Linked DNA regions of Homo sapiens: regions 2, 3, 4, 5, 6 and 7 are each linked to region 1. Evidence: promoter capture Hi-C in 16 types of primary human blood cells and fetal thymus (Javierre and others, 2016). All regions are on one chromosome and are shown on one strand. Each heading gives the region's core, a stretch centred on a gene start or on the middle of the fragment in contact. The rest is flanking DNA. Distances are from core to core; before and after follow the strand shown. Region 1 holds the start of KCNH1-IT1 (KCNH1 intronic transcript 1). Region 2 overlaps SYT14 (synaptotagmin 14). Region 3 overlaps SYT14 (synaptotagmin 14). Region 4 holds the start of SERTAD4 (SERTA domain containing 4). Region 5 overlaps HHAT (hedgehog acyltransferase). Region 6 overlaps HHAT (hedgehog acyltransferase). Region 7 overlaps HHAT (hedgehog acyltransferase).

Region 1 (3,572 bases), core at 667-3,166:
TTTAAGGTGCTGTCCCCATACATAATTCTTGCTTGATCTTCACAGCAACTCTGAGAGATTTCTGGGCAAGAATTAGTTCTTCTGTTTTTGAAATTAATTAACTGAGACAGGATGTCTTTGCAATACATTAGGATATGTCAGGATGGCTAACCCAGACAATTAATTTTCAGGGTTAGTTTTTTTTTCTCTTACATTTTTGTGTTGACTGTTGACTCAGTCTGAAACTAGTAAACTCTCCATTCATTTCTCCTGTGGGACATAGGCTTAGTCTCCCACCGCACCGACTGGGGATACATAGTAAAAAGGCAGGTACAGACTATGTGTGGGTCGAAATCCCCCAAAATAAGTGAACAAACGACCGTTGTCTTAGCCCCTGTCCAGAAACCTTGGGTGTATGTGGTTCTTCCGTATACCAGGGGTCAGCTGTAAAAACTAACTGTATCCTCTGCACTACAGACTACCCTTCAAGCCAAAGCCACGGTTGCTTAATTAATGCTGCCCCTCTCCTGAGCATTCGCCCTTAGAGACAAGTCCACCCCTTTGATGTTTGTCAGGCAGTTTGATACTGATCATACCAAACATCAGGAGCCTGCATTTGTGTCTACGGTAAAAACAACCCAAGACAACTCTTCTGAAGCTGAATCTGCCAGTCACTCTAAATCTGCACTATTGCAATACGACTTCATTAATTACTGCTCAAACACTGGCCTAGAATCAAGGTGGGGCAACTTTCACTAGTCAGGCTAACCTTACAGGAAGGCAAGAAGGTGTTCCCAGAGCCTCACAGGTCCCGGGGGCCCCGGCCTGAAACAGAGCAAAGGAAGAGAGTTACATCAGCACGCTCCCCTAAGACTTGTTGGGGGTGAATCCGCCCTGAAAGCTGCTCACAATGCCCTCCTCTCCACCCAGCCCATGGCACATCCTGAACACATTTCCCGGCTGAACCCAGAGGGTGGCGCTGCCGTCCCAGCCTTGGTCCACGGCCGCCCGCCACTTCCCTGCCTCTGCGGGAGCCCCCCAGCTTGGTCTCCCGCAGGCCGGCGGTGGGGCACGAGCCCGGTAGGGGGCGCCGCCGGCCCAGGCGCCGCTGCTCCCTCCGCCCACCCGGAGGCGGCTGCCGCTAGCCGAGGCCGGCGCGAGTGCACTGCGAGGCGGGCCGCAGGGAGGGAGGCGCGAAGAGGGCGCGAGGGTAGCAGCCAGAGGGAGCCGCCAGCCCTGCCTGCGGATCCCCGCCGGGCGCATGGGGCGCTTCGAGCCGGGACTGCGTGCGGGCCCCGAGGCCAGTTTCCTGCTGTCGTAAGAAGCCGCGCCAGGACGCCCGCCGGACCCCGAGCTGCTGGGAGGATGACCATGGCTGGGGGCAGGAGGGGACTAGTGGCCCCTCAAAACACGTTTCTGGAGAATATTGTTCGGCGGTCCAATGGTAAGAGGTGCATTCGGATTTCGATTACCCGGGCGTTTTATCCGTGCCTTTATTGCAGAACCTCTCGCCGCTCGGAGCCAGCAGATGCAGCAGAACCCGCGAGCTCTGCTAAGGAGCCGCGGCGCGGGCACCCAGGGCAGCCTCCCCGAGGCAGAGAAAGGTGGGCAGGGCGGGGCGGGGTCTGATGGGTCCCCATCCTAACAGGAGAGCTCTTCTGGGGACGCCTTTTGGGCCTTTCTAGCGCCCTCTCGGTCTTATCTCCAAGGATGCGTGACAGCTGCTGAGCAAAGTACTGGGAAAAGTGATGGAAAGCTGGCTGCAGCCGGAGCGGCAGCGCGCGCCCCATCGGCACTGCCCACCCTTCCGCGAAGGCTCTGGGGCTCCCGGGCTGCTCCCAGAGGCGCCGCCTCTCCCCAGGGAGAGCCAGCAGTAGAGACGGGCAACTCCAGGTCCCCGCTGCCTCAGAATGGGAGGATCCGGCTGCCTCCACCTTCCATCCCTGCAACTGAAAAGTCCGAGGTGTCGGGACGTGCTCTCGGCGGCCTGATTCCACCCCTTCACCCACCCACCACTTTCTAGGTGAAGTTAAGGCTCACCTTCGAAGTGAGGGGCAGATGGTTTTCCTGGCGTCAGGTGGGAAGTGGAGGGCACAGGTGCAGAGCGAACTAAATGGTCACAGGTACAAACCTGTTATATTTCCCCTCTTCCAAACCCACAACGGTTTTATGCCACCCTTAAGTGTTGCTCACCTATAAATTCCCAATCTCACCAAACCTATAAATAGATCCATTACCCAATAAACTGACAATCAGCACTCATCTGTTTCCTTGTGGCATTAAGATCGACGGTAGCATGAAGCCTTGAGAGGCGAGAGTCCTAGGAGCGGGGATGGAAAGGAAGAATTCCAAACGCCTTTCGGACTTAACAGAGGAGAGACCCCAACTAAGCACTTGCAGAGCGACTAGGAGTCCTGGCAGTTGGAAGGCGCAGCGCACGAGTTCATCAAATGGCTATATTGAAAGATAGCCAAGCATAAGATGCTCTTTGCAGACTCCTAGAGCCCCCACCCCACCCCTTCCAGAAACAGATGACATTCTTCTACCAGGGAGACATGAGGAGCTAACTTAGGAAATGGGTTTTAATAATGTGTAAATATCACGATTTCAGAGTCTAAGGAGCTTCTGTGTAAAATGATGAGCTTCTGTTTGGATTTAGTTAGGGATTCAGGGGAAGGGCATGAAAAGTGACTTATGCTACTAATAAACACTCTTTAATTAAACAGTGATTTAAGTTTATCTTATAATGAAACACATCAACTAGCATAGCAAATAATCACGTATTATTTAAGTACTTTCTTAGAAATGATCATTTCTTTATTGTGTGCCTCTTAAGAGTGTTTCTGGTCAGTCACCTTTCCTTTCAAGGTCTTCCTTATTCAAACTAAGGTGGCTTTTAGGTCAAGGTCACAGTCATTACCTGGGGATGCAAGGGGATGATAATTGCTATGTGAACAGCCACAATGAACTGTTTTGCCATAAAAAAGCTGGAGTTGTTCATTTATTTTTAAATAAAATAAGAGTTACTGTGCTATTATTGCTATTTTTATTGGACTATTAAGGGGTATGGAGACAATCTTGCAAATTTGGTTATCCCATTGTCAGTGACACCAACTTTCTCATAAATATCAATGACAATTCTATTTTTCAGTAAAGAGGCAGTGCCCTGTAAGTTAGAGGGGAAACCCAGTACCTAATGTATACTGTGTATGTTTTTGAGTGGAGGGAGCAGGAAGAGAAACTTACATGTAAAAGTCACAAGATGCCTTGGGTTTTAAGGGAACCTTAAGAATCTTGGAGCTGTGAAGGCAGAATACTGTCTATTTTAGTTGATCTTATTAGAGCCACTTTCCCTCTGTAATCATAGAATGTGAATAGAATAAGTCACTGGGAATATTTTTAGGATGGGCATTGTCATTTCAACACCAGTTTCAGCAGGTTGATTTCAATTAACCAATCAAATGAATAGCATCAAAAAAAATGAAGCATCTTGGGAGAGTTGGATGAATTTTTAAAATTATTATTTCAGAATAAATGGTTCTCATCTTGAAATATGGGACTCAATGTTTAAAAGGTGATCCCTTTTATAATAT
Region 2 (3,572 bases), core at 534-3,033, 1.0 Mb after region 1:
ACTATAAAAGGGTGAATTTTATGATCTGTGAATCATGTCTCAATAGTTATGAAAAATTACTTACAGGATCCCTATTTCAGAATAATACAATCTTAGAAAGAATCTCAAAGATAATTTAATCCAGTGGTTTTCAAAAAGTTGTAGTAAAAGTACCCTTTTGGCTGGGTGTGGTGGCTCACACCTGTAATCCTAGCAGGAGCTGGAGACCAGCCTGGGCAACATGGCAAAACCCCATCTCCACTAAAAATCAAAAAAAAAAAAAAAAAAAAAAGAAAAAAGAAAATTAGCCAGGCCTGGTGGTACACGCATGTAGTCCCAGTTACTTGAGAGGCTGAGGCACGAGAATTGCTTGAACCTGGGAGGTGGAGGTTACAGTGAACTGAGATTACACCACCGCACTCCAGCCTAGGTGACAGAGCAAGACTCTGTCTCAAAAAAAAAAAAAATAAAAGTACTCTTTAAAAAAATAAAATCTTATTCCACGTTCAAATACATGAAACAGGTAAGTATAGCATTGTATTAGTACATTTATTACTGAGCTCAAATTATAACAGGCTATTTCAATAAAAAATGAAATTTGATATTTAGGTTTGTTGGTAACAGTTTAGTCATATATTAACTTTGCATCCAGTGTTTGTGTTTTATTTTATGTATAAAATCAATAAAGAGCTGATAAGTTGTGAATTACCTTGTCTTGCAATGTCAGAATATTAATTCATTGAACTGACCAAGAAAATTGAAAGATAAAGTTAGGGAACATTACAGAAACTTTTTAAGTTAAACCATTACTATAATGATTGCTTATATTTTAAAGAAAACTACCCTGATTTTATGCAAATAATTAAAACTACCTGATTTTTTAAATATAGAAAAAGCAGTGACTGTGATGTATGAATTTAGTATTAATAGAATTTTTTTGGCAGACATATATAGGACTAAATTAAACAATATATAGCAATTAAACAATATATCAACACCAACCTATAGCTATTCCCAAGTCACAATTACAAGAATTTCAAATATATAGAGAGATATGGGAGAAGTGGCTTTATTAGTAAATCTATAGAAGACAAAAAAGTAGATAGTGAGTGATATGGTTTGGCTGTGTCCCCACCCAAATCTCATTTTGAACTGTAGCTCCCATAATCCCCACATGTCATGGGAGGGAACTGGTGCGAGGTAATTGAATCATGGGGGTGGGTTTTTCCTGTGCTGTTCTCTTGATAGTAAATAAGTCTCATGAGATCTGATGGTTTTATAAAGGGCAGTTCCCCTGCACAGGCTCTCTTGCCTGTCGCCATGTAAGATGTGACTTTGCTCCTCATTTGCCTCCACCATGGTTGTGAGACTTCCCCAGTCATGTGGAACTATGAGTCCATTAAACCCTTTTTCTTTATAAATTACCCAGCCTCAGTATGTCTTTATTGGCAGTGTTGAGAATGGACTAATACAGTGAGTTAACATGTAAACAATTTCCAATAGATTAAAATTTAGTACACAGCATGTGTTTATGTTGATTTTTTTTTATTTACCATTTTAAATTATAATTAAAAAAAGAGGCTGGGCGCAGTGGCTCACGCCTGTAATCCCAGCACTTTGGGAGGCTGAGGCGGGTGGATCACGAAGTCAGGAGTTTGAGACCAGCTTGACCAACATGGTGAAACCCCGTCTCTACTAAAAATACAAAAATTAGCTGGGCGTGGTGGCGCATGCCTGTAATTCCATCTACTCAGGAAGCTGAGGCAGGAGAATCACTTGAACCCAGGAGGCGGAGGTTGCAGTGAGGTGAGATTGCGCCACCGCACTCCAGCCTGGGTAACAAGAGCAAAACTCCATTTCAAAAAAAAAAAAAAAAGAAATTTGAAGCAAACATTTCCAGAATCCCAGAGCATTTCTGGAGAACATGGTTCAAATCAACCTACTCTACCTATTTACCTTAGAAATGAAAAAAAAAAATAAGGCCTGGAGAGGTTAATTAAATATCTTTCTGAAAGTTTTAACATATCTAGTTGTTCTGGAGAAAATGGACTAGGACTTAGGATTCTGGACTCTTAATTCGAATGGTCTTTTTACTAAGAAGTCTAAATCCCTTATTCTGTTTTTGAGGATCTTTATAATCTGGCTTCATCCTCATATTCACTTTCATTATTTTTCCCTCTATAATTCACAAGAGTAGTGAGGTCCCCACATTTCTACCAAGGAAGAGTGCCAGTGGGATGGTGATGATTTTTGGTGGGGGTATGGTAACTGCCCATCAAGAATGTGAGCATAGGAGGTGAAGGAGGCTGTGTCCTACGAGTTTACCTTTCAAATCTGGGGCCCACACCTGCCTCCTCTTCAGAGTTCCCGATATTGTTTGGGCCTTCAGAGGGGATTGATACAAATTACAAAATTGGGTAAGTCCCTTCAAATCTGCCCAAACACTGACAGAAATTCATTTGTATAAAATTTTCAAGCATATGTTACCAGGATCCATGAGGCACTCCTGCAGATTGTGGTTCAGTCTGAAGCTCCTGCCATCTGACTGTACCATCTTCTCCCTCTCAGCAATGTTTCAACTGCTAATCATCTAGTGAGGCCTGCTCCTTTAGTGAAGAATTCCACCTGGCTCACAGATTCCCCTGTACCCTAACATCTCTCTGACTTAATGTGACTTAAGGTGAATTAAATTTCCACATGAATGATCCTTCTAACAGTCTGCACACTAAGTTATTTGATTTTCTCATCTCTAATGACTTCTCCCTCCCAGTCTCACTATTATTTATTGGGCCTCGGCACCACCAGAGGCTACGGTGAGGTCTTCGCCAAAGTTACTAAGTAAAACAGGTGCTAACTACACCTCTTTTTTCTAACATAATTTGCCCACTCAACTGCTCTCATAACACCATGCTTTGACTGGACCTTCAGTGCTTGACACTATACTTTTTGTTCATCAGCCCCTTCTTGTCCTTACTTCTTCCTCTATCAAGCTGGCATTCCAAGCTGCCAAAACGCTAACCTTGGAAGAACCAATTAACTCCTTGATTGTACTAGGAAAAGCATCACACAATGGGATGAATTGGAACTTTGGCCATCATCTGGCTATACTTACAATCTAGTTATACTTCTCGGGTAAATTTATTTTTCCATTTCCCCAATTATTATAAATCTTCCATTTTCTAAAATCAGCTGACCCAGTTCCATTCTCCTAAAATCACTGACCCCGTTCCCTTTCTCCTTACTCATTCCTGCCTCCTGCTTCTCTCTCTCTCACATACACATGCACGCATACACACACACCTCTCAATATGTGGAAACTTCCTCAACTTCCTGTGAAAATATCTACAAACTTTCTGACATCTGGATTCTCTCCTTCTTTCTTACCATTGTAAGAGGAGGCATCCCTTGTATTTCAGACCAATTTCTCCACCTGCTGTCTGGATCCTATTTTCTACAGGCTTCTTGTCTCACATCCTAAATATCAGGCTTCAGTGAATTTGTCTCAGCCATATTTAAATATGCTTAAGTCTCACTCATAGTTTAAAAATTCATTTTGAATCCCAAACTACCTATGGCCAAGGAAAGAAGTGCTG
Region 3 (3,572 bases), core at 456-2,955, 980 kb after region 1:
AAAAGTTGTCACCTTACTATGAATACTTTGAATTTCAAATTTTTCTACTTCCCAAATGACTGGAAATAGAAAACATGAAACAGATTAGCTGATGATTACACCATTTCATTTTGATTGGTTAAGACTAAATGATAGGATTGAACTCCCTAATACTGAGAGTCCCAAAAGTGCAGAAAACATTAGAATTAAAAAAATTATTTTTCACTCACTGGGTGGTCTGTTTGCTGCCAAATTTTTGAAGTGGCTGCCTTTTATCACTTCTGCTGATAGTCTTCCAGTTGTGGCATTATAAAGCAGGCCAATAAGAATTTCTGGAACTGAGCCATGTTCAAGAGACTGACATGAGGATGTACTTTCACTACACGACATTTCTGACACGCTCATTTGGGAGTCACAGCCCTGTAATCAATAATAACATTTTTATAGTATTTTGCAAGAGAGATATATTAAGAGATATATTGTTATGCCATGTTTATTTGGATTAGGTAGGTAAATCACAATAAAGATGAGTTGCAAACCAAACACCAGATTAGAATTATTGTCCTTAGCATATTTTAGCCCCTGGATTTCTTTTCATTATGTAAAAGCCAAAGAAGTAATAGGAAATGAGAAGATTTCATAAATCCCTGCATATTTATAAGGAAATAAGAGCAATGTTGCTTAAACTTATAGATGCTAATAAACTGTTTTTTGAATATGAGAAATTATTGTTTAAAGATTATCAACCTTAAAAGACTGACAAAGATTTAGACTCAATACATCAAATGTCCTAACTGTGCCTTTAAATAAACAAAACAAAACTACCTGCTATTTATAAGCCAACATCTAAAACACAGAGATATAGAAAAGTTGAAAAACATGGGAAAAATTAATCATGTAAAAAATAATCAAACAAATTGATGTAGTTACATTAGTATCAGTCAGGGTTGGCTTTAAGGCAATAATCACCACTAGAGATTGAAGAAGTATACAAAATGATGATAAAACATTGAAATTACTAAAAACTAAAATAATCCCAAATTTGGATGCATTTAATAACATGGACTCAAAATACAGAAAGCAAAAATGGCCAGAACTAGAAAGAGAAACACAGACATCCATAATCACTGGGTACATAAGCACACTTCCCTCATTAACTGACCAAATTCAGTAACTGACCAAATGGGTGGACAAATAAGTACCATAAGGATGTAGAAGACTTGAATATCACAATAAGCAAAATTGACCTAATGGTCATATGCAGAATATTATACCTAATAACTACAAAATATAATTTTCCCAAGTACACAGAATTTTTAAATTAAAGCAAATAATAATTTCAAATGATGAAAATTATTCATAATGTTTTTTGATTGATTAGAAAACCAAACTCTGTTCTAGAGGAGAATAAAATATCTATATTTTTTGGAAATTAAAGGTATACTTTTAGTAACCCATAGGTAACTAAATGATAATAAAAATAAGTGATTTGAAAGACTAATAAAATGAATAAATTTCTGGAGAGTCCAATTAAGAAAAAAGGGACGAATAACAATGATCAGGAATGAAAAAGGAGACATCACTACATATTCTAGAGACCATGAAAAAATAATAGGATAGGATACTAGAAGAAAGTTGTTTCTTCTAGTAAATTTGAAATTTGAATGAAATATACCAGCGATCTCCAACCTTTTTGGCACCAGCGACCAGTTTCCTGGAAGACAATTTTTCCATGGACAGGATGTAGAGGGTAATCTAATGCTGCCACTGATCTGACAGGAGGCCGAGCTCAGGCTGTAATGTTCGCTAGCCCACTGCTGCTCACCTCCTGCTGTGCGGCGCCCATTCCTAACAGGCCATGGACTGGTACTGGTCTGTGGCCGGGGGGTTGGAGACCTCTGAAATAGACATCTTTCTAGAAAGTTATTACCAACCAGAAGAGATGCTGGAAGACTGTTCAGAAACAGTCTTACTAAAGAAATTGAATTTGTAATTAAAAGCCTTTCCAAAATACACATACAAAACAAAAATAAGAAACTTTGGCCTAGATGGCTTCACTAGTGAATTCTAATTAATAATGCTAGTTTTACACAAACTCTTTCAGATATTAGAGAAAGAGAAACCACTCCTCAACTTCCTTTAAGAATTTAGCAAAATATTAAAACCAAAATCTAATAAGGGCATTATAAAAAAGAAAAATTACAAGATTTTCTCATTCATGAATCTAGATGAAAAAATCCTAAATATACATCAGCAAACCAAATCTAGCAACATGCAACATCGTACTTAATAGCAAAAAATGTTAATGTTTCCCCTTTGAAATTGCCAACTATTACTACTTTTAGTCAACACTGTAGTGGAGATACCAGCTAGTGAAGATCCTAGCCTTACTAAAGACAATAAAATGAAATAAAAAGTATAATGATTTGGAAGGGGACTAGATTTTTTTAAAAAGCCCTTATGTGCAGATTACATAATTATGTACACAGGAACAAATCTACAGATGAACTGCAGTTGTATACAGAGGTAAAATTTAGAAATCCATACATTACTATATATCAGAAGCAAACAGAAAATAAAATTTATTAAAATATCATTTATTATGGCATTTAAATATAAAATATGTAGGAATAAATGTAACAAATGATATGCAAGGCCTCTATACAGAAAACTATGAACATTATTGGGAGAAACCAAAAAGTACTATATAAACTGTTACTGTATTAGCTCAATTTTGTAACATTCTTTCCAAATTAATCCATAGATTAAATTCAATTCCAATAAAAATATCGGCAGGTTTCTTTGAATTGTTTGACTTCATTAGTAATCAGGGGAATGGAAATGAAAACTATGAGGTAACGCTACACAACAAACAGATGAGCTAAAAGAATACCAAATGTGGTGAGGACAAAGCACTGGGAACTATCATAGTTCTCTTGTAGAAATGTGGAGTGATACCAATGTTTTAAATGTTATAAATACACATACCCTATGATCTGGCAGTTCCACCCCTACATATATACCCATCAGAAATAAGTGCAGTGTTTATCAAGAGACATATGAAAGAATGTCCATAGCAGCATTACTCATATTGGATCCAAGCAATAGAATGGATAGTTTGTACTGAGTTCATACAATGGCATACTATACAGCAATGAAAACCAATTATAACATTTACAAATGTGATTTTAAGTAAAACATGTTGGGCCCAAAAGGATACCAGCTGCATAATTCCATTTATGTAAAGTAAAAAAAACAAACAAAAAAATCAAACAACCCAAAAACCAAAACCTCAAACCAAGCAGAACTAAACCATTATGTTCCCGATGTATTAATAGGTGGTAACATTATAAAGAAAAGCAAAAAAGTAATTCACATAAAGTAAAAATTGTAGTTAACTCTGGAGGTGGGAGAGAAGAACAGTGATTGGGAAGGGCAGGATGGGAGTTTCTGGGGTTAGTGAGACAATGTTTCTTTCATTCCTTGACCTGGATGGTAATTACATGGGTTTTGCTTTGTGATAAATGGGTTGCACACTTGCATTTTTTACCCTTTTCTAATGTGTGTTGGGTTTTGCAAGAAAGAAGATTTAA
Region 4 (3,572 bases), core at 428-2,927, 900 kb after region 1:
TTTCTGCCGTTCCTGCAGTACACCTGTCTGCCCTGGGAAGTACATTTCTCAGCTGCAGCCCCGCGAGGCCAAGAGCTTGAAGCTGGGTCCTGTGGTTGGGGCTGCAGGTGCTGGGCCTAAAGAGCACGAAGGGGTGCTCCGATGCCCGAGCCCTGGTGCCCAAGGTGTGTGTGTGTGTGGCGGTTGCGGGGGTGGGGTCCGAGGTTTGGAGGGCCGACCTCTTGAAGGCGGGCGGCAGCCACCAACCACATCCTGGCTCCCGCACAGACACACCCCCGGGGTGTCGGTGCCGCAGCCCTCAGCCCCTCCCCGGGTAGCCAGCAGCGCCCGGTCGGCCGCTGGCCGCAGGAGAAAGTAAACAACACCCCAAGTGTCCGGGAACAAAGGCAAGTTGTCTTTCTACGGTGCCGCAGCCGTGTGCCTCTTCTGAAGAATAAGAGCTATTATTATTCTTTATGTCTTATCCTTTTTTTTTTTTAAAAAAAAAACCAAGTTTCCTTCTAAGGGAAATAAACACCAAAGGTAGGATTCCAAGGAAATGACTCACAGCGGCTGGCAGGGCTCTGGCGGGGCTGGCCCGGGCCCCCGCGCTCCAGCCCGCAGCAGATGTCGGCCCGGCCTTCCCTCCCTCCCTTGCCGGCCAAACCCGCTGGAAGCCCGCGGTTGCGGGAGCGCCCTGCGCCCGTGGGACCTGGCGGCGAGGACGCCTATTCCCTGCTTCTGCGACCACAGCTGGGCACTCGGAAAGTTGCTAGGGCCGAAGAGGCGGGAGGGGAGGAAGGGAAGCGAGAGGCGGAGGCGTGGACCAGGCGGGCAGCAGCCTCAGCCCGCCGAGGAGGTGAGCTGAGGACAGAGGAGCCGCCGCCGCCCGCAGCGCAGCTCTGCTGCCTGGGAGGAGGGTGCGGGGGCGGAGGTGGCGGGGGACAGAAGGTGTCAGCTACTGCATCAATTCCTTTTTCTTGCAAACGCGCGCTCCTGACATCCACAATCCCTCTCTCCCCACCTGCCAAGCGCCGCGGCATCCGGACCTGGGGGCACCCCTCCTACTTAACCCCTTCCCCTACGATGAGGGACTAAGCGGCCACGGAGGACCATGAGGTCTCACCAGAGCTTCTGACCCCACCCGCCCCTGGAGTTGTCTCGGTGCGCGCGGGTGGCAGCCCGAGCAGCCCTAGAGGAGGCGGCGGTTCCCGCCCTGGTGAAGGCGCCGCGGCGCACGCTAGCCCAGGGAAAAGCCCGCGCCGCCTCCGCGCCCAGCTGTGCCTTGGCCCCCACGCCGCCCCGACTCCGCTCCGGCCGCTGCGAGTCCACTCGGTGACCTCGGCACAGCCCTGGTGCCAAGAGGGCGCGCGGGAGGCCGCGTGGGTGCCCGTCTGCGAGGGCAGGAGCCCCGGGGGGCCCTCGCCCTCCACCCTGCCCGGCCCTCCCGCCCCCGCGGCCCGCGCCCAGCCCGGCTCTTACCGCGGGGTCAGCGGGGAGGCGGCGGCCGCAGCGCTTGAGCTGCTGCTGGTCCGCTCTGGGCTCGGCGCCAGCCCGGCCGCCGGTGCACACTCGCGGGTCCCGGCCCGGCCGCCCGCTCGGCGGTGACTGCGGGTGCGCGGCGGGCAAGGGTCCCGGCAGGTCCCGCCGCCGCGACTGGGGCGCTGCGCCGCCGTCGCTGCAGACGGTTATGGTAATGAGCGGCTCTGTCTAGCGAGGAGCGTGTGAAACCCGTCAATCCTGTTTGCCATTTCCCCGTGGATTTCCGAGGAGAGGTTCTGCAGGATGCCCCCAGGGTGAGAGAGGGAACATGACAAGCGCGCCCGCTCTCCCTCCCTCCCTCTGCTCAGGCCGCCGCCGCCGCTCCTCAGGCTGCACACGGGGCGCCTTTCCCGCACCCCCACCCCAGCCCGCCCCCTGCCTCCTTCCCTGCTTCCCGCCCTCCCTCCTCCTTTTCCTCCCCTCCCCTCCCGGTGCCCGGGGACACGCGGGCCCAGCTCCAGCCCGCAGCCCAGACCCCACGCGCTCTCGGGCTCCCGCCCTAGCCCTGGGGGCTTGGCTCCAGCCGAATAATGTATTCACTCTGGAACCTTCCGAGATATCTTGTCTTTTTAAATTTGGTTTAGTTTTGTTGTTGTTGTGTGTGCGTGTGATTAAAAAAAAAATCTGTGCCTTTCCCACCCTTTGCAAAAGACTTTCTTCTCCTTTGCCACAGCAAACGGAGATGAGAAACAGATGTCTTTGCAGGACCAAACAGTTATTCTCCCTCGCCGCCCGCCCCCGCCCGTTTCCCTCCTGAGCTGCGTACGTATTAAAAAAAAAAAAAAAAGCAACCTTGGTCCTGCTGCAACTTGAATTGGCAACCCTTTCTGGGTGGGGAGCCTCCAGGGAAAACCTCCAGGAAATAAAAAGTAATACAAGAGATTGTCCTTGCTCAAGAGAATGTAATTTAAGCCTTGGAATCAGAATATTTTGCAAATAGTAATTTTCTCCTATAGTGGCCTCAGAGTTTATTTTTTAAAATCATTAATTCATAACTTCTGTCTAGGGACCCCTCCATAGTCGAGATGGGTCATTTCAGGTGTAATGAAGGCAGAGGCTTGGAAGGCATAGACCTAATAAAATCGGGAGAAGGCACCTGCACAAAAGTGTTACAAAGACTATAATGTTTGTTTACTGCCACTATACCAGATGTGCTAAATATAACACTTCTTTAAAACAGTGATCCTCCGACTGTGAAAAACCAGACCTCTGGCTGCCTGGCTCCCTAGGAATCAAGAAGACGCACAGACTGAAAATCAAGGGAGGAAGGAACAAGATCAAGGATGAGGATTAGCATCTGCAAATTGAACTCTATCTAATTTGCATGTTTATTTCTTAGAATTGTAATTAAATTTGTGTAATAAATGTTTTCCATTTCATTTGTACACTTAAAACTTGGGTGACTGACATGCAGTTAAGTGAATTTCCTTTTTTTAAAAGCAAATGTAGATTATTCAATAAAGCAGCAAACCAATATTAAACATAATTAGAACTAATTTGTTTTGAAGGTGTTTTTGTTGAACTTTGTACATTAAAGACTCTCAGAGGTTTTAAGGGTATTAGGAAGCTGAGAGATGGCAATTATGCTTAAAACAGATGAACCCAACAGCCTACCAAGAGCATTATTTCATTTTTTCCAAAAGACATTCCAGGGTTGCATGCCTAAAATTGGGAATTGGGCATCCATCTTGGCTTTATTCTGAACCATATTAAATTGCATTGGCTCATGCATGATGTGGGCCATTATGATGATAATTTAAGAATTGTAAAGATGCCATTTTGTGCAGTCAATGGAAGTTGCATGTCCAGGTTAAGAGTAGAGTATAATTTTCATCTGGGTGGGAGAGGAGGGTTAGGAAAGGCACAAGGGCATTTAAAGCAGTGCAAGTACGTAGAAATCCAAATTTCCAAATAATCTAAAACTGGTTATTGTCAAACTCAAAAGAACTAAATGTGAGGGTTTGGAGGCATGGCTTATTATGGTTTTTATCTCCCTATATTAAAGTTTTATGGCATTTAAAGGACTATGGGTAAATCCCCATGTACACTTG
Region 5 (3,572 bases), core at 663-3,162, 740 kb after region 1:
ATTGCTGAGTAGTGTTCCATGATGTGGATATACCACAGCTTGTTAGCCATTAACCTACTGGAGGCTATCTAGGCTGTTTGCAATGTGGGGCTATTACAAATAAAACTTATGCAAACACACATGCATAGATTTTTGTGTAAAAATAAGTTTTCATTTCTCTGGGATAAATGCCCAAGATCACACTTGCTGGGGTGCAAGGTAGTTGCATATTTAGTTCTATAATAAACTATAAAACAGTTTTTCAGCATGGCTGTAGCATTATACTTTCCTGCCAGCAATGCATGTGTGATCCAGTTTATTCACATCCTTGCCAGCATTTGGTGCTGTTACTATGTTCTATCTGAGCCATTCTGGTAAGTGTGTAATGACATCTCGTTGTGGTTTTAATTTGAATTTATCATGCTCTTTTAAAAGGTATCAAAGCATGAGTGACCTGAAGCTTGAGATGAGCTTGCTGGAGCACAGGATGACAGCCCCACCGGAACTACTCTGACCCTCACTCAATGGTCTTTATTCCAGGTTCTTCCATTTCTAATAGGAGATGAAACAGAAAGCCGGGGAAGAGGGGAAGTGTTTAAAAGGCTGATGAAAAATAAGAAAGTATACTCTATTTTTACAGCAGTGGAGACAAAGCCAGACTGAACGCTATGGCCTTTTTGATGAGACATAGATCTTACTAACCCTGGTTGACTTAAGCAGGCATCCTTCCCCTCTGCTCCCTGAGTCTACACTGAACCACTCTCAAAATGGGGTCTGACTCTACTTGATAGTCTCCTTAATAGGCTAAACTCCTGCCTTGTTTAGATTACAGTAATGTAAGCCCAGAATCTAGCACAGTGCCTAGCATATATCACGTGTTTCATAACTATTGGATGGAAGGATGGAGAGAATAGTTGCATGGATGGATAGCTGGGTAGATGGATATGCTTTCCCAAGTCTTGGGATTTAACCTTGAGATCATGACTAAGAAAAAACAAGAAAATAGCAGTAAAATGTGGACTTTGGAACCCAATAATGTGAAAACCTACTGTCTTCCAAAGTCTCTACTTGTCCTACTTAACCCCTTATAAACAATGGCTGTTTTGCTAATGTAGGTAGAATGGAAGAGACATTTCACATCTCACTGCCTATTACCTGTTTGCTACTCACAGCATCTCTTAACAACTCCACTTCTGTTGGGGGAAATCTCCAATAGTTAACAACTGATGGGGCACAGGTACCAATCCAGGAAAGTGGATACCTGTTATAGAGGCTTCTATCCATCACCCCAGCAGAGTCTCCCGGGAGAATAACCAGTTGAGCTGGCAGAGCTCCAAGGATTGGTGTCAGTGCCCTTAAGAAAAGACTACAGATTTGCCCTCCTTTCTTTTGAAATCCATACTCTTAACCTTCTTCATAAGGAGTCAGGAAAAACTGCCAGACAATGCCCCTTCTCACACCATCTGTTTCTACTTCAGCTCATTCTGTGCCAAGGGTGCCAAGTGATAATAGGGTATGCCTGGTGGGTTCCCTCCTTAGAGTTTACCTCTGTAGGGAGGAGTGAAAGTGTAGAGCCTTGGTCAGAATTCCTGTTGGCAACATTATCAGACGTCCCTGCCTATTAATTCTTTTTGCACATCTGCCAAGAAACCACTCAATGGGAGCATTATTCGGAAAATAATAAAGGGAATCAATCAATCTTATGTATGACACAATTTATTACATACTACATAATCAATAGCAGCTGCTACTGAAATATATATGTATTATATATATACATACATATGTATATATAATCTCCCCAAACAGAAAAATACAACCCACCCATCCCACAGTCTGAACAACTGCATCCCATTTCCTGGGAGCAAAGGCCAGCAGGCCCACGTAAAAGGAATTTCATCCCTCCTTAGACATGCACTGATGGAGGTAGAAGGGGCTGATTCCAGGAAAACCATTAGCACATGAGATTTCTATTCAGTGGATAGATTTGGGACTGTCCTGGAAAAGAACCCTGCTCCCTGCAGCCTTCCAGAGGTTGGTTAACTCATCTCACTCAGCACCATGGGTCAGGCTTCTCAGCCCTTTGCATTACCTGCGCCTGATGAGCTCAGCCTGTCAGTCAATTGCTAATGATGTGGGTTCTCCCGTCAGAGGCACAGTGAGAACCCGGCTCTGTGGTTAGCAACAGCACCCACCCTCAACCCTACACCAGGCCAGTCTTCTCAAAAAGTTCACACGGGGGTATTTTTTGGTTCTGAGGGCAGAGAACACAATGTCTCAGGTGGTAGTGAGGCCACAGTTGGCGTTCATGAAAGGAGGCAACTGTCTGACCCGTGACATCCAATCCAATCATAACAAATGCACAGCCAAAGCTGAAAGCCATGATTCAGCCTTCCCTCCAGGGGCACTGGCTCCTGATGAAGTCTCACCAAAACCCAAAGAGAGAGCCTTATCCAGGGAAAGGGTGTTTAACTGAGCCAAGGAACTCAGTGGAAAGTTTTATTTCTTACCATGGCAAAAAAAAAAAAAAAAAAAAAAAAAAAAAAAAAAAGATAGATCATGCTTTTGAAAATAAAAATAACCTGTCACCTCTCCATGGGAGGAGGTGGAATGAGCCAAGGAAGAGACGAGATTAGATAGTAGATAAAGGAGGAGGCTAGAATCCTTCAGGGCTTAAGGCTACAACAGCAAGAATTGCTAAAGCCTGTCCCTGCATAGTGTTGCCTATAGTTTAGGATGCCTCAGAGAATGGGGAGAAAAAAGGACAACTGCAGCCTAAATCTTCCACTCTGAGTAAGTACCAAAAACAACTACCCGAATTAAGGCCATCTGGAACACTTAGTCCAGGTGGTGAAAGCAGAGAGCTAATGAGGCCAACGCTGTGGTTCATACTTATGTAAGGGCCAAGCAAACTCAGACAAAGAAAGCACTGTGCCCCAGCCACAGGCAGAACCCGGCCCACCAGCTGTCTCACAAATCAAACCCGTGGTCACCCAGAGGATGAGAGAGGCACATACAGAGGGAGATGACTCAGTGCTCACTCTGCCTCATTCCAAGAAAAATGCAAAGGAATACCTCCTACTGATATTGGATAAGATGTGCTCTGCAGAGAAGAAGCCTAGTCCACCTGTCCACCCCTGCCTGGTAACAAGATGCAGAAAGGTGAAATAAGTAAACTCCATTTCCTTCAAGCCACAGCTCAAAAGCCACCTTCTCGGAGGCCTGCTCTGAGACCAGAACGGCAGGTGAGACCTACACCTTCTCCCATAGTAACGTGCCCAGCCAACAACATCAGGTACAGAAGAGTGAGCAGTATTTGCTTTCCTAACTTCCCACTCAACTGTGACTCCCCAAGGGAAGGGGCTGTGTTTCTCAATCCTTTCCCCCAGGACCCAAGACAAGCTTGAAAAGACCATCAGTATGGGAACATTGGTATGGATGCTAGACATGGCCTATGCCCTTGAGGATTTTGGAATCTCAAGACCGTCACCTCCATTCTTGAACACCATAAACTGCTCCCAGGAGCAAATGCCAGCAGATGACAGCAGCAGACACCATCTATTGGGCTGTCCTCATGTGCAAGCATAACTCTG
Region 6 (3,572 bases), core at 646-3,145, 720 kb after region 1:
TCATGAGAGCAGACCCTTCATGATTAGGATTAGTGCTGTCATCAAGGAAACCTCAGAGAGTTAGCTAGTTCCTTCTACCGTGTGAAGACAGTGAGAAGGTGCCAATCTATGAACAAGGAAGCGGGCCCTCACCAGACACTGAATCTGCCAACTCACTGATCATGGAATTCCCAGACTCCAGAACTGTGAGCAATACATTTATGTGGCTTATAAGCCAACCAGTTTATAGTATTTTGTTACAGCAGCTCAAATGGACTACGGCAGAAAATCAGTACCAAGAGTGGGAGTGCTGCTGTAACAAAATACCCAAAAATATGCAAGTAGTGTGGAAGGGGTAATGGATAGAAGCTGGAAGAGTTTGGAGGTGCATGCTTTAAGCAGTATACATTGCTGTAAATGGATCTTTAAGGGAAATTTTGGCAAGGGCTCAGAAGGAAAGGAGAAGAGCTGCAGAGAAAGCCTCAATATTCTTAAAGAATAGCTGAGCAGTAGTGAACAGAATGTTGGTGGAAATGTGCATGGTAAAGGCCAATCTGATGATTTCTTAGACAAGAGAAACATGGTATTGAAAACTGAATGAAAAGCAATCCTGTTATGAACCAGCAAAGAACTTGGCTGAATTGTGTTCGTATCCTAGTGTTTTGTGGAAGGCAGAATTTGTGAGTAATGAAATTGGATATTTAGCTAAAGCCATTTCTAAGCAAAGTGTTGAAGGTGCAACTTGGCTCCTCTTGACTGTTTATAGTAAAACAGCAGAGGAGAAAAGTGATTTAAAGACAAAATTGTTAATCAAAAGGGAAGCAGAACTTAAAGATTTGGAAAACTCTCAGCCTTTCCATACTATCAAGAATGAGAAAGCCTGTTCAGGAGAGAACATCAAGAATGTGGCCAACCAACCACCTGATAAGGTTAGTCAGCTGTTTAAACAGAAGCCAGGACCTCCTGTCCAAGACAATGGAAGAGTGATCACAAAGAGAATTCAGTCATGAAAACTATTTGTGTTCAATGTGCATAAAATAATGAAAGGCTGGAAAGATATACACCAAATGTCAACAGTGGTAATCTTTGGATGGTGAGATTTTAGTTATGTTTTACAATTAAAATTGGTTCTTTTCAGTCAGAGAAAAAGTAATGTAACATTATAATACTGTGAATATTTTGACCCTCTCTGCTGCCACCATCATCACAGGCCAGAGTGCAAAGGCCTGGGGGACAAAGCAATTGCAGATGCAAAGGAGGGGCTGTCACTGCCCAGTCCTGCCTCACATTGTGGGCTCTGCTCCCCACTCCCCGTCACCACACTCCTTGGCTGCCCCAAGGGTGGCTCCTGTGGGCCCCAGTGCAGTGTAGTTGGCACTGCAACCAGAAAAGCTGTGAGGGGGTGTGGCTGCCTCCACCTAGATTTCTAACAATGCCTAGAGAGCCATGGGGCCCAGACAAAGAACTGCACAGAGGCAGGGCCCAGCAGAGCCATGAGGGTGGCACTGTCTCATGACCCCAGACCAGTAGAGCCACCAGCTCAAGATTCTGGCCTGGGTGATCTGCAGGAGGCATAACCCCCTCCCCACCACCATGTGTCCAGAGGCACCCCAGTGTGTCTGAGAGGTGAAACCTCCACCCTAGTGGGCCTGGAGGGCAGAGTAATGAGCCAAACATGATGATTCCTGAGCCTTAAGGTTTTGGACTTCCTCAGGAGCTTTTACTCCTTTCTTCTTTCCAATTTCTACCTTTTGGAATTGGAGTGTCCATCCTATGCCCGTCTCACCATTGGATTTGGGTGTACAGAGCTTGATTTCACAGGCTCACAGCTGAAGGGGAATTTGCATAAGGATGAATCATACCTTGAGTATCACACACATCTGACTTAGATGATATTTAAATGAGACTTTGGATTTCAGACACTTGAGTTGGTGCTGGAACAAGTTAATACTATTGGGGCTATTAGGATGGAATGAGTGTATTTTGCATGTAAGGAGGCCATTAATTTTCAGGGGGCAGGGGCAAAATATTATTAATTGAATGTTTACATCCCTCTAAAAATTCCTATGTTGAAATCCTAACCCCCAAGGTAATGGTACTAGGAGATGGTGCCTTTAGGAAGTAATTAGGTCATGAGGGCATTCTTCATGGTTGGGAATAGCACCCTTATAAAAGAGACGCCAAAGAGTTAGACCCCTTCCACCACAAAAGCACACAGTGACAGGTACCATCCTGTGAACCAGGAAGCAGGCCCTTACCAGACATCAAATCTGGCAGTGTCTTGATCTTGGACTTCCCAGCCTCTAGAACTGTGAGAAATAAATTTCTGATGCTCAGAAGCCATCCAGTTTATGATATTTTGTTATAGCCGTCTGAATGGACTAAGATACATACTATCCATTAGTCTGTAGAGGCTAGAGGAGTTCACACCAAGGTTAAGACATGTAGAGGCATGTAGAGGCATGTAAGACATGTAGAGGCAGCAAAATCACTCTAGACCAATGGACAGGTCTTTCCTGGCACCCAGACTCTTTTCTTTATGACACAGGGTGTCACTCTATTGCCCAGGCTAGAATGCAATGATGTGACCCTACCTCATGGTAGCCTTGGCTCAAGCAATCCTCCTGCCTCAGCCTCCCCTGCAGCTGGGACTACAGGCATGTACCACCACGCCTGGCTGATTTTTTTTTATTTTTTGTAGAGCTGAGTTTCACCGTGTTGCCCAGGCTGGTCTCGAACTCCTGGTCTCAAGTGATCCTCCTACCTCAGCCTCCCAAAGCACTGGGATTACAGGTGTAAATCACTGTGCCCAACCTGCTCAAACTCTTGGAGAGAAGCAAGTCTTCTAGCTGAACGTGATAATGGCCTCAAAAGCAGTGTTGACAGCAGATAATCTTCACACAGACAAATGTCTACAGTTTCTAAATAAGCCAACTGTGCATATGGCCTACAGGCTCTTCAGCATAACCTACCCAAAGCTCAGGTTCCCTGAAGGCCAGGACAGTACCTCGGGCCTCCAAGCAGCATTTGGTATGGAGCCCCATCCCAGGGAGTGGAGAGATAGCAGCTGGACTGGAAGGGAGCCAGGAGGAGGCCAGAACCAACAGCCCCCAAGATAATCAAGAAAATATCGCTGACACCCAATCACCTCTCAGCTCCAGGCAATCACGTTTCAAGGTGAATTCAAAGGCCTCCTTTCCCTCCTCAAACATGTGCATTCTAAAATGACACAAATATCTGTAATTAAGAAAAATCATGAGGTACATTTTGTCATGCATTGGCTTCTTAATAATGACTTACCTACTTTTCACAAGCTAAAACTTCCCTACCAGGTATAATAAGGCATAATTACATGTCACTACAGGACCAAAAGGACTAGACTTTTCTCTGCAACACTCCTTTTCTGGTGCTGACTGCCTCCCTGCTCCAAGCAACAGAAATGTTTATTAATTGCACAAATAAGCCAGGCATGGTGGCTCATGCGTGTAATCCCAGCACTTAGGGAGGCCAAGGCGGGCGGATCACTTGAGGTCAGGAGTTCAAGACTAGCCTGGCCAACAGGGTCAAACCCTGTCTCTACTAAAAATACAAAA
Region 7 (3,572 bases), core at 286-2,785, 700 kb after region 1:
TAGCTCTAAACGATTACCTGTATTTTCTTATTTGCTGTGTAATGCATTTACATGTAAATTTTAGCTAGTATTTCTCTTCATTCCCATCTCTTTCCCCTTCTATTTAATATAAAGGTGTCAATGGTAGCTAACTCTACAACTGAGCCCACAGTTGTAGGATATTAACATTATGGCCAAATTCCAGGAGATGTGGACACTCCCTTGAGCCCACTGAGAGCCTGGACTTGAATAGTTACTTGGGGAAAGAGATGTGTGTATTTTCAGCTGTATAAGAGATAGTGTGTGTCTTCCTGAAGGTGTCCAGTCTGTGGTATACCCCTTGAGGACTATATCTAATAACATTTCCTTGCTTAAACTTAAACCTTGTTTGAACTCGGCCGACATGGAAAGGAGCTGCTCAGTACCCTCTTCCTGAACATTCCTGCATATTAAGAGAATTCAGCCTCCCACTGGCCTTCAGAAAGCTATAATCACTATCACATTTCCCACTAGTTTCTGATTGCTTTTAGTTACTGAAAGCAGAAACATTTAAAATTTCCCCCAAACTATGTCCATTTTCTCACGTCTGATTATTATTCAACCCTGGTCTATATTCCCCCGAATGAACAGTGGCAACCATGACCAAAGTCAATCACGACTCATTTGCCAAAACTGAAACAGACTTTCTTCATTCCCCTCTTATTGGCCTCTCTTCAACTTCTGATAAATTGTGTACCTTCTTCTTTTTTAAACCTTCACAAGACACTTGTTTACTTCCTCATTAATTAATATTCCTTCTGATTCATTGATAGCCCTCTTTTTCTATCTACCTGTCAAATATCAGTGTTCTCTAAAGTTCTATCCTTCCAGTAAGATATGTCTAATGCAGGTGCTGGGCCAGCCACAGTGGGGGCAGAGGTAACCCCATGTAGACTGGTACAACGCTGGTGTGGACAACATCCACAGCCCAATGCCCTGCCCAGGCAGTGCTCAGGAAGATCTTCCTGGAGCCTGGCCTCCACCTGAGAGCCTGATTACAGCAGCTCTAACTCTCACTAGAAATTGAAGGAGAAGGTTAAAATTAATAATCATCATCAACATCACCCTGAAAAGAGAGAAAAATAAATGGGAAGAAAATTTTAGTTTGATATCTCCAGGAGAGGATTAAGGGAAATGAAAGAAAAACAAATGTCACCCTGTTGCCATGGAGCTCCCAATGTCCTCTCAATCCCAGGGAGTAGCAACGGAGCCCTGACAGACAAGCAGCCACCACTGTTTTTTTTCCACCCCCACCAGGAGAGGATTAAACACCTTCCATGGAGTATGTGAATATTTCTCTCCTTTGATTAACCACATCAAATCAATCCCACGAGAAACAACCTCTATTTATATTCTCTATTTCTGTTAACTTGCAGCGATCCCTTTTTGGAGCAATAATGTACGACGCATGATTTCCCTTTGCTGCCTTATGCAAAATCTTGTATCAATCACTCATCTGGATATCTGGCTGCTCACACTAACACCAATCTGATGTCAACTGCCAGGCAGAGTCCCTGTGAAATTTTACTTCACCTGAACCTGCAAGTGAAGTACTCATTAAGCACCTGCGCTGTGAGTGCTGCAGGAGAAAGACCCCAGAGGCAGTGGTATAGGCGCATCTCTAAAGCAGCTCTCACTCAGCTTGGGGTGTTCAGAGGGGGTCATTCCTGGACAGGGTAGAATGTTACCCAGTCCTGAGATTTAGAGATGAAGGATCTGTTGTATATCTTCTTCCATGTAAGACAAAGAGACATCTTTTACTGTCTGTGCTGCTGTCTCACACTTAACCGCAACTTTTGGATGGAAAAAAGGGCCTTAGTGGAATGAGAGCCCTGCCATCGAGAGGTTAAAAGTGACAGAATAAAAAAATTACAGTATCTCTGTATTAGTTCAGAAGGAAATCAGAGGCTGCCACCAGGGCCCAAAGCTCACATGCCTTCTGCAAACCTTATAACCCCCTTATGCTTATTTTATCTTTCTGAAACATCTCAAGAAGGATTAGCACCAAAACCTTGAAGCTGAAGGTGCCCATGTGCTGGAAAGAAAGGGGATGTTTGCCATGCTATACTCCACATCATGGCAGCCTGGAGAGACGGAGACCCTGAGGAGCAGCCTGGAAATGGCAGGTCCACCAGAAGGTAAAAAGATGCAGTCAGGACCCACTGGGCTATGTGATAGCAAGGCCATCTAAGACTACGTGGCAGTTAAGTCATCATTTAACACAACTAAAGCAGCATATTAGCTTCTGCCTCTATTTTTTCACCTTTGATTTATTCTGTAGCCCTGGTCTTTAGTCCCCCAAAATGAACAACGTCAACCATGACCAAAGTCAATTATGACCTCCCATTTGCCAAAATGAAAGACTCTCTTAAATCCCCTCTTACGCAGCCTCTTTTCAACCTCTGATAAATTGAGCTTTCTTCTTGCAACCTTCACAAAACCACTGGCTTCCTCCTTTGTTTATTAACATTCCTTCTCATTCGTTACTGACTCCTTTTCCGGCTCACCTCTTAAATTTTAACATTCTCTAAAGTTCTATACTTGGCCCTCCTTTATTCTCATTCTACACATTTTTCAAGGAAGTCCTTTTACTCCTGTGGCCTCAGTTATCACATGTGTGCAACAGTTCCCACGTACCTGTCTCCATTGCCAATCTCACTCCTGAGCTCCAGTCGCATCCCTGGGAAATTGGTTCCCAGAACCCCTACAGATACCAAAATCCATGGATGCTCACTTTTCAGGGACACTTTTGAGAATGAAAGAAACTATTAATAATGATATCAGGAAAACAGATATAGAATAGGACTGCAAAATGGGATATTTGGTCACTCTACAAATCATAAGCCTCAAATTAATTGTTTTAAGAGTCGAATAAAACAATTATAACATTTAAATCTTCTATTTTCTTGGCTGCCTATTATACTACTTTTCAAATTTTCCAATTTGAAACACTACACTGCTACTTTGTATTCAGAAGTAGTTGCTCTAATACAAAGTACTGGCTGCCTCCCAAACAACTCTCTTCCCCCAGTCCTTGCCATTGGAAAGGGAATTTCATTCCCGTGTCCAACCTCTTCCCCATAGTAACCTGGAAGAAATTCCTGGTTACAACTAATCATGGGATGATTATAATATGGCCATATGACCCAGATGATGCAGTTATGGCCACAAGGTACATAAAGGGGGAAGCTGCTGGAGATGCTTCTTGTGAGATTTCTTCCTTCTTAAAAACAGGTATAGTGGAATTTCCATTTCTGGCAATATAACAGACTGTCCCATCTTGAAAATCATGCCAATGGAGAACACCTAAGAAATGCTAAATGAAATATGTGAAAGCATCTTTTTCAAATATATACTTGAGCTGTTTGGAAAAGTCCTTGGAGACCAAAAATATATATATAAAGCAAGAGCAGAAAAATGGGCGAGCGGTCGTGCATGTCTTTACCCTGGTAGAACCTGCCAGGCTGCAAAGACCTAGGCTTTGCTTTTCACAAGCCACATGTGGGGACAGGTGGCAGTCCTGGGAGCCCATACACATAGGAGGTTAGAGTGAC

Evidence for each region. The method cuts DNA at HindIII sites, captures the fragments that hold promoters and counts their contacts. A CHiCAGO score of 5 or more calls a contact.
Region 2: a contact is called between a fragment that was not itself captured here and the fragment with the promoter of KCNH1-IT1 in region 1, in 1 of 17 cell types (M2 macrophages). The highest score is 5.9, in M2 macrophages.
Region 3: a fragment that was not itself captured here is called in contact with the fragment with the promoter of KCNH1-IT1 in region 1 in 1 of 17 cell types (M2 macrophages); the score reaches 5.8 in M2 macrophages.
Region 4: the fragment with the promoter of SERTAD4 here is called in contact with the fragment with the promoter of KCNH1-IT1 in region 1 in 3 of 17 cell types (M1 macrophages, M2 macrophages and erythroblasts); the score reaches 6.9 in M1 macrophages.
Region 5: a fragment that was not itself captured here is called in contact with the fragment with the promoter of KCNH1-IT1 in region 1 in 13 of 17 cell types (naive CD4 T cells, M1 macrophages, fetal thymus and 10 more); the score reaches 14.2 in naive CD4 T cells.
Region 6: a contact is called between a fragment that was not itself captured here and the fragment with the promoter of KCNH1-IT1 in region 1, in 15 of 17 cell types (fetal thymus, endothelial precursors, M1 macrophages and 12 more). The highest score is 15.6, in fetal thymus.
Region 7: a contact is called between a fragment that was not itself captured here and the fragment with the promoter of KCNH1-IT1 in region 1, in 7 of 17 cell types (M2 macrophages, M1 macrophages, M0 macrophages and 4 more). The highest score is 13.6, in M2 macrophages.

The regions. Positions count from the first base shown.
Region 1 is chr1:211,131,718-211,135,289 of GRCh38, reverse strand. KCNH1-IT1 (KCNH1 intronic transcript 1) reads left to right here and starts at 1,916. Exons shown (of 2, transcript NR_046784.1): 1 at 1,916-2,102; 2 at 2,264-3,011. It overlaps KCNH1 (potassium voltage-gated channel subfamily H member 1), which reads left to right and starts at 1,142. Exons shown (of 11, transcript NM_172362.3): 1 at 1,142-1,423. The coding sequence starts at 1,345. RefSeq lists silencers at 961-1,240, 1,735-1,925, 3,152-3,352. The HindIII fragment of the contact is 10,582 bases long and covers 1-3,572 here.
Region 2 is chr1:210,135,965-210,139,536 of GRCh38, reverse strand. The region is part of intron 6 of SYT14 (synaptotagmin 14); the gene reads right to left. Among named protein-coding and RNA genes, the nearest start is that of SERTAD4, 95 kb to the left of the region's middle. The HindIII fragment of the contact is 6,290 bases long and covers 1-3,572 here.
Region 3 is chr1:210,152,548-210,156,119 of GRCh38, reverse strand. SYT14 (synaptotagmin 14) reads right to left here. Exons shown (of 9, transcript NM_001146262.4): 7 at 210-399. Among named protein-coding and RNA genes, the nearest start is that of SERTAD4, 78 kb to the left of the region's middle. The HindIII fragment of the contact is 6,999 bases long and covers 1-3,572 here.
Region 4 is chr1:210,230,901-210,234,472 of GRCh38, reverse strand. SERTAD4 (SERTA domain containing 4) reads right to left here and starts at 1,677. Exons shown (of 4, transcript NM_019605.5): 1 at 1,462-1,677. It overlaps SERTAD4-AS1 (SERTAD4 antisense RNA 1), which reads left to right and starts at 588. Exons shown (of 2, transcript NR_024337.2): 1 at 588-838; 2 at 2,702-3,017. RefSeq lists an enhancer at 1,266-1,799. The HindIII fragment of the contact is 4,360 bases long and covers 1-3,572 here.
Region 5 is chr1:210,393,188-210,396,759 of GRCh38, reverse strand. The region is part of intron 4 of HHAT (hedgehog acyltransferase); the gene reads right to left. Among named protein-coding and RNA genes, the nearest start is that of HHAT, 66 kb to the right of the region's middle. RefSeq lists an enhancer at 2,761-3,055. The HindIII fragment of the contact is 2,942 bases long and covers 442-3,383 here.
Region 6 is chr1:210,410,694-210,414,265 of GRCh38, reverse strand. All of the region lies in intron 6 of HHAT (hedgehog acyltransferase), which reads right to left. Among named protein-coding and RNA genes, the nearest start is that of HHAT, 84 kb to the right of the region's middle. The HindIII fragment of the contact is 7,234 bases long and covers 1-3,572 here.
Region 7 is chr1:210,431,260-210,434,831 of GRCh38, reverse strand. All of the region lies in intron 7 of HHAT (hedgehog acyltransferase), which reads right to left. Among named protein-coding and RNA genes, the nearest start is that of HHAT, 100 kb to the right of the region's middle. The HindIII fragment of the contact is 8,555 bases long and covers 1-3,572 here.